Linked DNA regions of Homo sapiens: region 2 is linked to region 1. The links are contacts of gene promoters, found by promoter capture Hi-C in blood cells and fetal thymus (Javierre and others, 2016). All regions are on one chromosome and are shown on one strand. Each heading gives the region's core, a stretch centred on a gene start or on the middle of the fragment in contact. The rest is flanking DNA. Distances are from core to core; before and after follow the strand shown. Region 1 holds the start of LYPLA1 (lysophospholipase 1). Region 2 overlaps RB1CC1 (RB1 inducible coiled-coil 1).

Region 1 (4,013 bases), core at 800-3,299:
GGTGTCGAACTCTTGACATCAAGTGAACTACCCACCTCGGCCTCCCAAAGTGCTGGGATTACAGGTGTGAGCCACCGCGCCCGGCCCCAATGGTTCATTTTAAAGAAAATTTAGTCGTTCTGGGGCTACTTTATCAAAATTTATTTATCTTCAGTTTTCCTCTATTTCTGCAATTTTTCAACAACATTCATATTTTGCTTAAGTTTCACAGATTATCACCAATTTAAATATAAAAACAAAAACATCTCAATATAGAAAAAGCTTGAGTAAAAGATAAATCATGTATCTAAAGTTAGTACAAAAGGCCAGGCTCAGGCAGCTCCCACCTCTAATCTCTGTGCTTTGAGAGGCTGAGGCTGAAGGATCACTTGAGCCCAGGAGTTCAAAGCTGCAGTGAGCTAAGATCCTGCAACTGCACTCCAGCCTGGGCGACAGAGAGAGCCCTTGTCTCTAAAAATAATAACAAAAGAAAAAAGCAAACAAACAAAAAATAAAATAAAAATAAGTAGTTAGTACAACAAATTGTTTGATAAGCCTCCAAATAAATCTTTGAGTTGCCTCCCCTGCCTTTCAACTCATTAGAGTGAACATCTAATCCCTCTATTCAGAATGCTGCATGCCTTATGTTGCCACTAGTTCTCTTATCAAAATCAACTAGTTCTTCTCTTCAATCTGCTCTGAAATTTTAACTGCTCTGGAAAGCTCTCAATTGCACACCGTCCCTACTAACATTCCACGGATCTCTGGTATCCAATACCCAAAGCAACTAATGAGGAATTTGAAATTTTAATATGTTCCAGAAACCAGAGTTAAAAAATCAATAAACTCACGATGATAAGGGGAAAATTCTGAGGGTTTTCAAAACATAAAATCACCGCACTGTAAGATACATTAACTGGCAATCTTAAAATACCATTTTAGCGCCCTTAAACATTAAACCTTTGAACGCGTAAACAAAAGTTGCATGACCCAGTTTCATTACTGTTACTATTAATAATAATGGTACCTACCCAGTATCTCCCAATCCATGCAGGAAAATCACCTATAAGAGAAGAGGAAAATTAATAAGCAATGCCTAAATAAGCCCACACAGGATTGTTACACACTAGCTTTGCTTAAGGTGGAAAACGGAACGAAACCTACGAGAGAATTACACAACACTATCTTCGGCGACTTAATCTTTATCGACCTCTTTTAAATGGCAAAAATTCTGATCAACTTCTCCCTTTATTTCCTGAGATAATGAATGGGGGGGGGGTAGCACTGAGAGGTCCCAGTTAGACATTGAGTGCAAATGATCACATTCTAAGAAAAACAGTTTATCTCTTTCAAGTGAAATCAGGAACATCTCACATATCCTGTAGAATTTTTCCACTGCAAAAGCAAGCTTCCGGAGGCAAAAATAAGTTTGACTTTTCATACACGAGTTTTCTAAAAAACAGTACGTCTGACCTTGTAGGACACTCAATCTTCAAACTTCTTTCATTGAGGATAAGAGTGCGAGGTGACAATAAGGCGATTTCCTGGCGGACTTAGGTTTCCCTCACCCACACACCAGGCAGAAACACGCTGCAGAGGCTGACGCCGTGCCCTAGGCCGGCCCGCGGGGGTCCCGGGGCCACACTTCCTCCGCAATGCAGGGAGGAGCTGGGGACTGGCCCTCGCGCCGGCTGTGACCCCCCGGCTGCCCCCGCCCCCCGCGGACCCGGCCGCGCGGACCATTCGCACCCCACCCGGGCCGGGAGGAGCGTCCTCGTCCGCAGGCCGCCACGCGCCCGCAACGCCCACCCCGCGCGAGGGGCAACCACCGGTGGCCGGCCCAGTGGACCCCTCCGAGCCCACGCCTACGCCACTCACCGCAGCGGTGGCCTTCCGGGCGGCGGGCACGATGGCGGGCAGCGGGGTTGACATGTTATTGCCGCACATACACCGCCTCAGCTCACAGCGCAAGCGGAAGGAAGAGCGGGCGCCCGGCCGCGGCCCAAGGGCGTGCGAGCGGCGAGTCCCGGCCGGCCCCACCGGGCGCACGCTCAGGCGCGTGCGCGCCAACGCGGCCCCGCGCTACCTTCCGCGCGCGCCCGCGCGTCCAGGGTCCGCCCTGCCCTGCCCCTCGCCCGCCGCCCCTCCCTCGGCACCTCACAATGTCCGGGCGGCTCCCTCCCTCCGATTGGCTGCGGCGGCAGCGCGGACCTGGCTGCGCTTTCGCCACACCACGCAGCCTGCGCATGCTCAGTGCTGGCTAGGGAAAATGTGCTCTCAGGTGCAGGCTGAGGGCTGGTCTCTTGGGTCTTGGTTTAGGTTTTTGCTTTTCTGGCGCTGTAGTGAAAAGAATGAGCCCCAGAGCCAATTCACCCAACCCAACCCCAGGTGCTCCTTGGTTTCCTGCGGCCGGGGTCTATCCATTTGTAAAAGTCTGGATGGACTGGGAGACGTTGATGGAGCTTTTGCAGTATTTCCGTTTGGGGCTACAGCAGTATGTAGATTTGGGTTCAACTTACCTTCTTTAAACTTTAGTTGGAAAGGGTAACATTTGTCACCAGAAATCCACTACTTCCCTAACTTGATCGACAACACTTACTGATGTACGGATATTGACACAGTACAGGTTTAAGTGAGAGGTAAAGCCAGCTGGTCTTCTGGGTCGGTTGGGGACTTGGAGAACTTTTCTGTCTTACAAGAGGATTGTAAAATGTACCAACAGCACTCTGTAGCTAGGATTGTAAAATGCACCAATCAGCACTTTGTGGCTAGCTAGAGGTTTGTAAAATGCACCAATCAGTACCCTGTAAAACGGGCTAATCAGTGTTCTGTAAAGTGGACCAATCCGCAGGACTTGGGCCGGGACAAATAAGGAAATAAAAGCTGGCCACGCCCCCCATCCCCTAGCTGGCAGTGGCAGCCCTGGGTCCCCTTCCACACTGTGGAAAGTTTGTTCTTTCACTCTTCACAATAAATCTTGCTGCTGCTGCTCACTCTTTGGGTCTGTGGGACCTTTAAGAGCTGTAACACTCCCAGCACTTTGGGAGGCCGAGGCGGGTGGATCAGGAGGTCAGGTGATCGAGACCATCCTGCCTTAACACGGTGAGACCTCGTCTCTACTAAAAATACAAAAAAAAAAAATTGGCCGGTCGTGTAGTCCAAGCTACTTGGGAGGCTGAGGCAGGGGAATGGCGTGAACCTGAGAGGCAGAGCTTGTAGTGACCTGAGATCGCGTCACTGCACTCCAGCCTGGGAGACAGAGAGAGACCTTGTCTCAAAAAAAAAAAAAAAAAAAAAAAAAAACTGTAACACTCACCACGAAGGTGACAAGCTTTATTCTTGAAGTCAGCGAGACCATGAACCCACCGGAAGGAACCAACTCTGGACACATAAGCATGAGACTAGACTGCCCTTTTCTGCACAGGTGCCTTTATGGCCTAAAATGTAGTTACTCAACAAATGTGTTGCATATCAACTACATGGTAAGATCTGGAAGAGAGCACAAGATAGAAACACTTAAAGCCAAAATGCCCTGACCTTCAGAAGTTTACAATTCAGTGAAGGACATACTGGAGGCCGGGCGCAGTGGCTCAAACCTGTAATCCCAGCACTTTGGGAGGCCGAGGTGGGCGGATCACGAGGTCAGGAGATTGAGACCATCCTGGCTCACACGGTGAAAACCCGTCTCTACTAACAATACAAAAAAAAAAAAAAATTAGCTGGGTGTGGTGGTGGTTGCCTGTAGTCCCAGCTACTCGGGAGGCTAAGGCAGGAGAATGGCATGAACCCAGGAGGCGGAGCTTGCAGTGAGCCAAGATAGTACCACTGCACTCCAGCCTGGGCAACAGAGCAGGACTCCATCTGAAAAAAAAAAGGACATACTGGATACCATCCTTAGAGAGTAAGGTTCGGAAGAAAGCTGTAAAAAAAACAACACTCCATTTCTTTCACACGGTAACCAGTGTCAGAGGCGTGTGAACCAGAGCAACTCCATCTTAAATAGGGGCTGAGTAAAGTAAGGCTGAAACCTATTG
Region 2 (4,013 bases), core at 404-2,903, 1.4 Mb before region 1:
ATAAGCCAGACACTGCTAGGTGCCTGGAATACAAATATCTTCAAGATGCTTTCCAGCTGAATAGAACACATGAGACTCAGATAACCCTAAAGTGGACTAAAAGCTTCAGAGAAAAGATGATTGGAAATAATTTTGCCTGATCTCTAATTCTGTAAACTGCAATTATTAGCAATTCTCCCTCATTGAGGGGTCACGGGCTACTGCATCAATGGAGATAATGTCCACCACAAACGGAGTGTCTAGGTTGCCCAGGGACTGAAAACTGGGCATCAGTCTCCCCAAATCAGATGTATTCTAATCTGATCCTACCCCTTCTCTGCCAAGAAAAAGAATGAAAGATGAGTAGGTCAGGCATTTTCCTCACATTTCCCTGAAAGAAAACCTTTTTCATAAAAGTTCAGACTTCCTAAATATACGCCTTGTCTACAAACTAGACAAGCAACTTCGCCAAAAGAATGAAGCGAGCATTTAGAAAGGTAGTGCCCAAAGACAGCAAATGAGGTAAAAATAGCAGAACAGGAATACTTTTAAAACAAAAATGAAAAATACTTTGGAGTACACCCTTCAGGTTTTTTTCCCTAGGTGTACAGGAAATATGTGTATATTCAGGCAATATGGTTTTATAAAAATGAGGTGACACCCTACATACTACTATGGACTTTGCTTGAACTGCATAAAATAACAGAAATCTTTCTGTATCAGTACATATAAATGCATTACACATTTTGGTGTCCCTATCGTTTATAAAAACTACATAAAATGCATGATTTTAGTGAAAATTTTCTAGTTGTGTTTTATTTTATAACGGAAACTAACAGTAAAACCAAAATTATCTATATAGCAAATATAGAATTATATAAGACAGGGAAAATGGGGAAAAAAAAGAAAATGTAGAATTAGCTGCATTCTATTAAACCAAGATTATCTATAAACATATAACCAAATTATTAAACCAGCCTGCCCAAATCTGGTATTTGCAGTAAAACAATTACTAAAAGCCGTTATATTACTGTAATATAATATGGTATTGAATTAATATTTCAACAGGTATGCTGGACAGTTACTGAACAAGTATAATGTGTGGAATGTGAAGGAAAAATGAGTGGACAGTCTCAAATCAGTGACAAAAAAAGGAAATGGAACACAATTATTTTTATCTCCTAGCACAATTACAAGCCAATAAAATATGAGAGTTCAAAAGAGCAAACTAACGGGTAGAAAAAAATCATGGATGAAAAAAAATGGGCGAGGATTGTTATTCCACAATCCTCAAAGCACTCACTAAACAGCCATGAAAGCAGAAACAAATTAGCCAAGGAAAGAGGGTACTTGGAGGCATTCAAGTACTGCACTTACAAAAAGTAATCCAACAGAACCGGAACTTTACAAAGGGATAGAAAGAAATGCCATCCTCTCAGGACCCTAAACAATGGGGGTACAGTTTACAGTCAAATTAAGTTGATTTGGTCCATAATAAATAATCAGAGACAAGTAATCTTCACATCCTTTTATCTATGTGAGTTAAGCAAAAACTCATCAACCTAGCACTATACAATCGGCTTAGCTAGCCTTTTATCTACTCTACATCCTCAAAGTAATCTGCGTTTGTCATTTACCTCCATGAAAATTTCCAGTGGTTACCCATTTCCTATAAATAAATATATATACATAGACAGATATGTCTTTCTTGTTCACTGTTGCATTGCTGAAGCTAAAAGAGTATGCTGCAGGGGTTCAATTAGCATTTCAGGAATAAATGAAGTGAATTTGGCTTCAACTGCTTTCCAGCCATGCTGGGTTTACTTGAATTCATCTGTAGACCTTTGTGAGTTAGAGCACATTAGTTTCCTTACTATGACTTCCAAACCTGAATATGTAGAGCCCCACAATCTACCATTACTATCGCCTCTCTCATACCAGTCCAGCTTCAGTAACTTCATTTTTCTTGGTATATGCCATGTATATCAGAGCCTTTCCATTTACTGTTTCTTCTGCCAAAAATTCCTTTCGAGAGTCACACACTTACACCCCTTACTTCTCTTGGGCCTTTATTCAAAAGGCAATCAGTGGCCGGGCTTTGGGAGTCCGAGGCAGGCAGATCACCTGAGGTCAGGAGTTCAAGACCAGCCTGGCCAACATGGTAAAACCCCGTCTCTACTCAAGAACAATTACTTAAACATTTTTATGTTCCTCATGTAACTAGTTCAAAAACCTCACAGTGGTAAAAAGATAATAAAAGAATCGTGAAAGTGTGTTGAAAGGGACTGCTAGATTTTCAAAGTGTCTTAGGCCAGTATTACTACAAAAGAAAAGTGTAACTGGAGTCAGAAAATATCATTACCTGAATGAGAAAATTTTATCAGCCATTCTTTTAAAAAGATATTCATAAGACATACACATCTGCAAAGTAAAGCATGTAGGTGCTCAAATATCTGCTGAATGTATGATATAAAATTTTAAGTTAATATTAGAGTCTAAAAACTTTTCTCAGGCTAACATAATCAAAATTTAGGTTCAAAATTTCGAAAACAAAAGTCTTGTGTCTTCTGCCTTTATGAACTTGATTTGCTAAAGTAAATCTGCCATGCATCCTGATCTTGTGTTTGGCAGCAAGAGCCAAAAAAAAAAAAAAAAAAAACTCAGGGACAAAAGTACCGCTTCATTGTCTTCCCTGTCGTCCAATAACAAACATATAAAGGATTAGGTACATAAATAATCATATCTTGATTACCATAAAAAGTTCAAAATAGACTAAATAAAATTACTTTAAAAATATGAACTATGTCAATATCCACTTTCCATCAACAGAGGTTTCTCAACGTAAGCATTATGTGCCTAAAGCATCCCTGACATAAAACTTTATCCAGGTTTTGAACACAATCACAAACATTAAAAGACATGACAGGAATGTTATTGAGAAAATATCTTCATTAGGGCCATATTCTGTTACAACAAATATAAAAAGCGAACATATTTTCACATTCCTAGCAATGGTCTGCTTATAAATCCAATAATCCAAAAACTAAAATCAGCCACCTCCCTCAGTAGTTCCTTGGTTTCTCACAGTTTTATCTGATCAGAAGTGGAAGGACCCTCTTTTTATCGTCTATCACAATGTAATAACATTCTTGATTAAACACACAATTAAGTCTACTTAAGTCTCTTCCTAAATTGCTAACTGTCCAAACTTATGTATAAATCATACAAGCTTCACCAAAACACAAAAACTTAAGAAACTACACAATAAAATAGTTAGCAAATAGGTACACTTTAAATGTTTGCAGCAGACTTGAGAACATTCCCATCTGGCTGAATGTCTCGTAGTAACGTGACTCTTTATCAACAGTGAGCACATGAGTCTTCCTTGGCAGCCAAGTCTACACTACTTCAAGGTATGACCACACTTTAAAGAGTCATGATGGAAACGACTAGATTACGAAACCATAAACAGTAAACACAGCACATCCACCAGGCGGTGGAAGAAACTATAGAGATATTCCATTCAGAAGCTGCTATTTCTACTGTTGGTTAATGTATTTTTGTTTCTACCAAGGAAGCTGTGAAATCCGCGTGCACACCCATCCCAAATCTATCCGTGGGGCGGGCGCAGGCTGAGTCATTCCTAGGAGTAACTTTATACCGATCCTCGCACTCTGGGGTCGGGACAAAGACATCATCTCTCCGTTCCTCCCATTCGGTGAGCTTCGTTCGGCCTCGGCCAAACTCCACTCTCCCGTTTCTCGAGTCCAACACAGAATTAAGGGCTGATCCCTGGCAGCGATGAGCACAAGTCAAGATGCGTCTTGGGAGGTTCGGACGTCCCTCGCCCTCGGCCACTCCGGCAACTAGGCCGGGTACTAAGCGGCAGCGCAGAGGGAGGGATCCCAAGGCTCCGGCCGAGGAAGCCGCAGGCAGCCCCGCAGCACGAGTCCGACCCACACCTCCGGCAGCCTAGTGGAGCATCGACTCGAACCGCTTTTGTCTCCACAGGGGCTGTCGCGCCGGGAAAGCGG

Evidence for each region. Contacts are between HindIII fragments. The CHiCAGO score rates a contact against its expected background, and 5 or more counts as called.
Region 2: a fragment that was not itself captured here is called in contact with the fragment with the promoter of LYPLA1 in region 1 in 5 of 17 cell types (fetal thymus, total CD8 T cells, activated CD4 T cells and 2 more); the score reaches 12.5 in fetal thymus.

What each region holds. Positions count from the first base shown.
Region 1 is chr8:54,099,898-54,103,910 of GRCh38, forward strand. It overlaps LYPLA1 (lysophospholipase 1), which reads right to left and starts at 2,050. Exons shown (of 9, transcript NM_006330.4): 1 at 1,858-2,050; 2 at 1,011-1,042. The coding sequence starts at 1,926. It overlaps LYPLA1-TCEA1 (LYPLA1-TCEA1 readthrough), which reads right to left and starts at 2,050. Exons shown (of 21, transcript NM_001425842.1): 1 at 1,858-2,050; 2 at 1,011-1,042. RefSeq lists a silencer at 1,604-2,173. The HindIII fragment of the contact is 1,923 bases long and covers 1,386-3,308 here.
Region 2 is chr8:52,709,879-52,713,891 of GRCh38, forward strand. The region is part of intron 1 of RB1CC1 (RB1 inducible coiled-coil 1); the gene reads right to left. Among named protein-coding and RNA genes, the nearest start is that of RB1CC1, 2.6 kb to the right of the region's middle. RefSeq lists a silencer at 4,012-4,013. The HindIII fragment of the contact is 3,105 bases long and covers 102-3,206 here.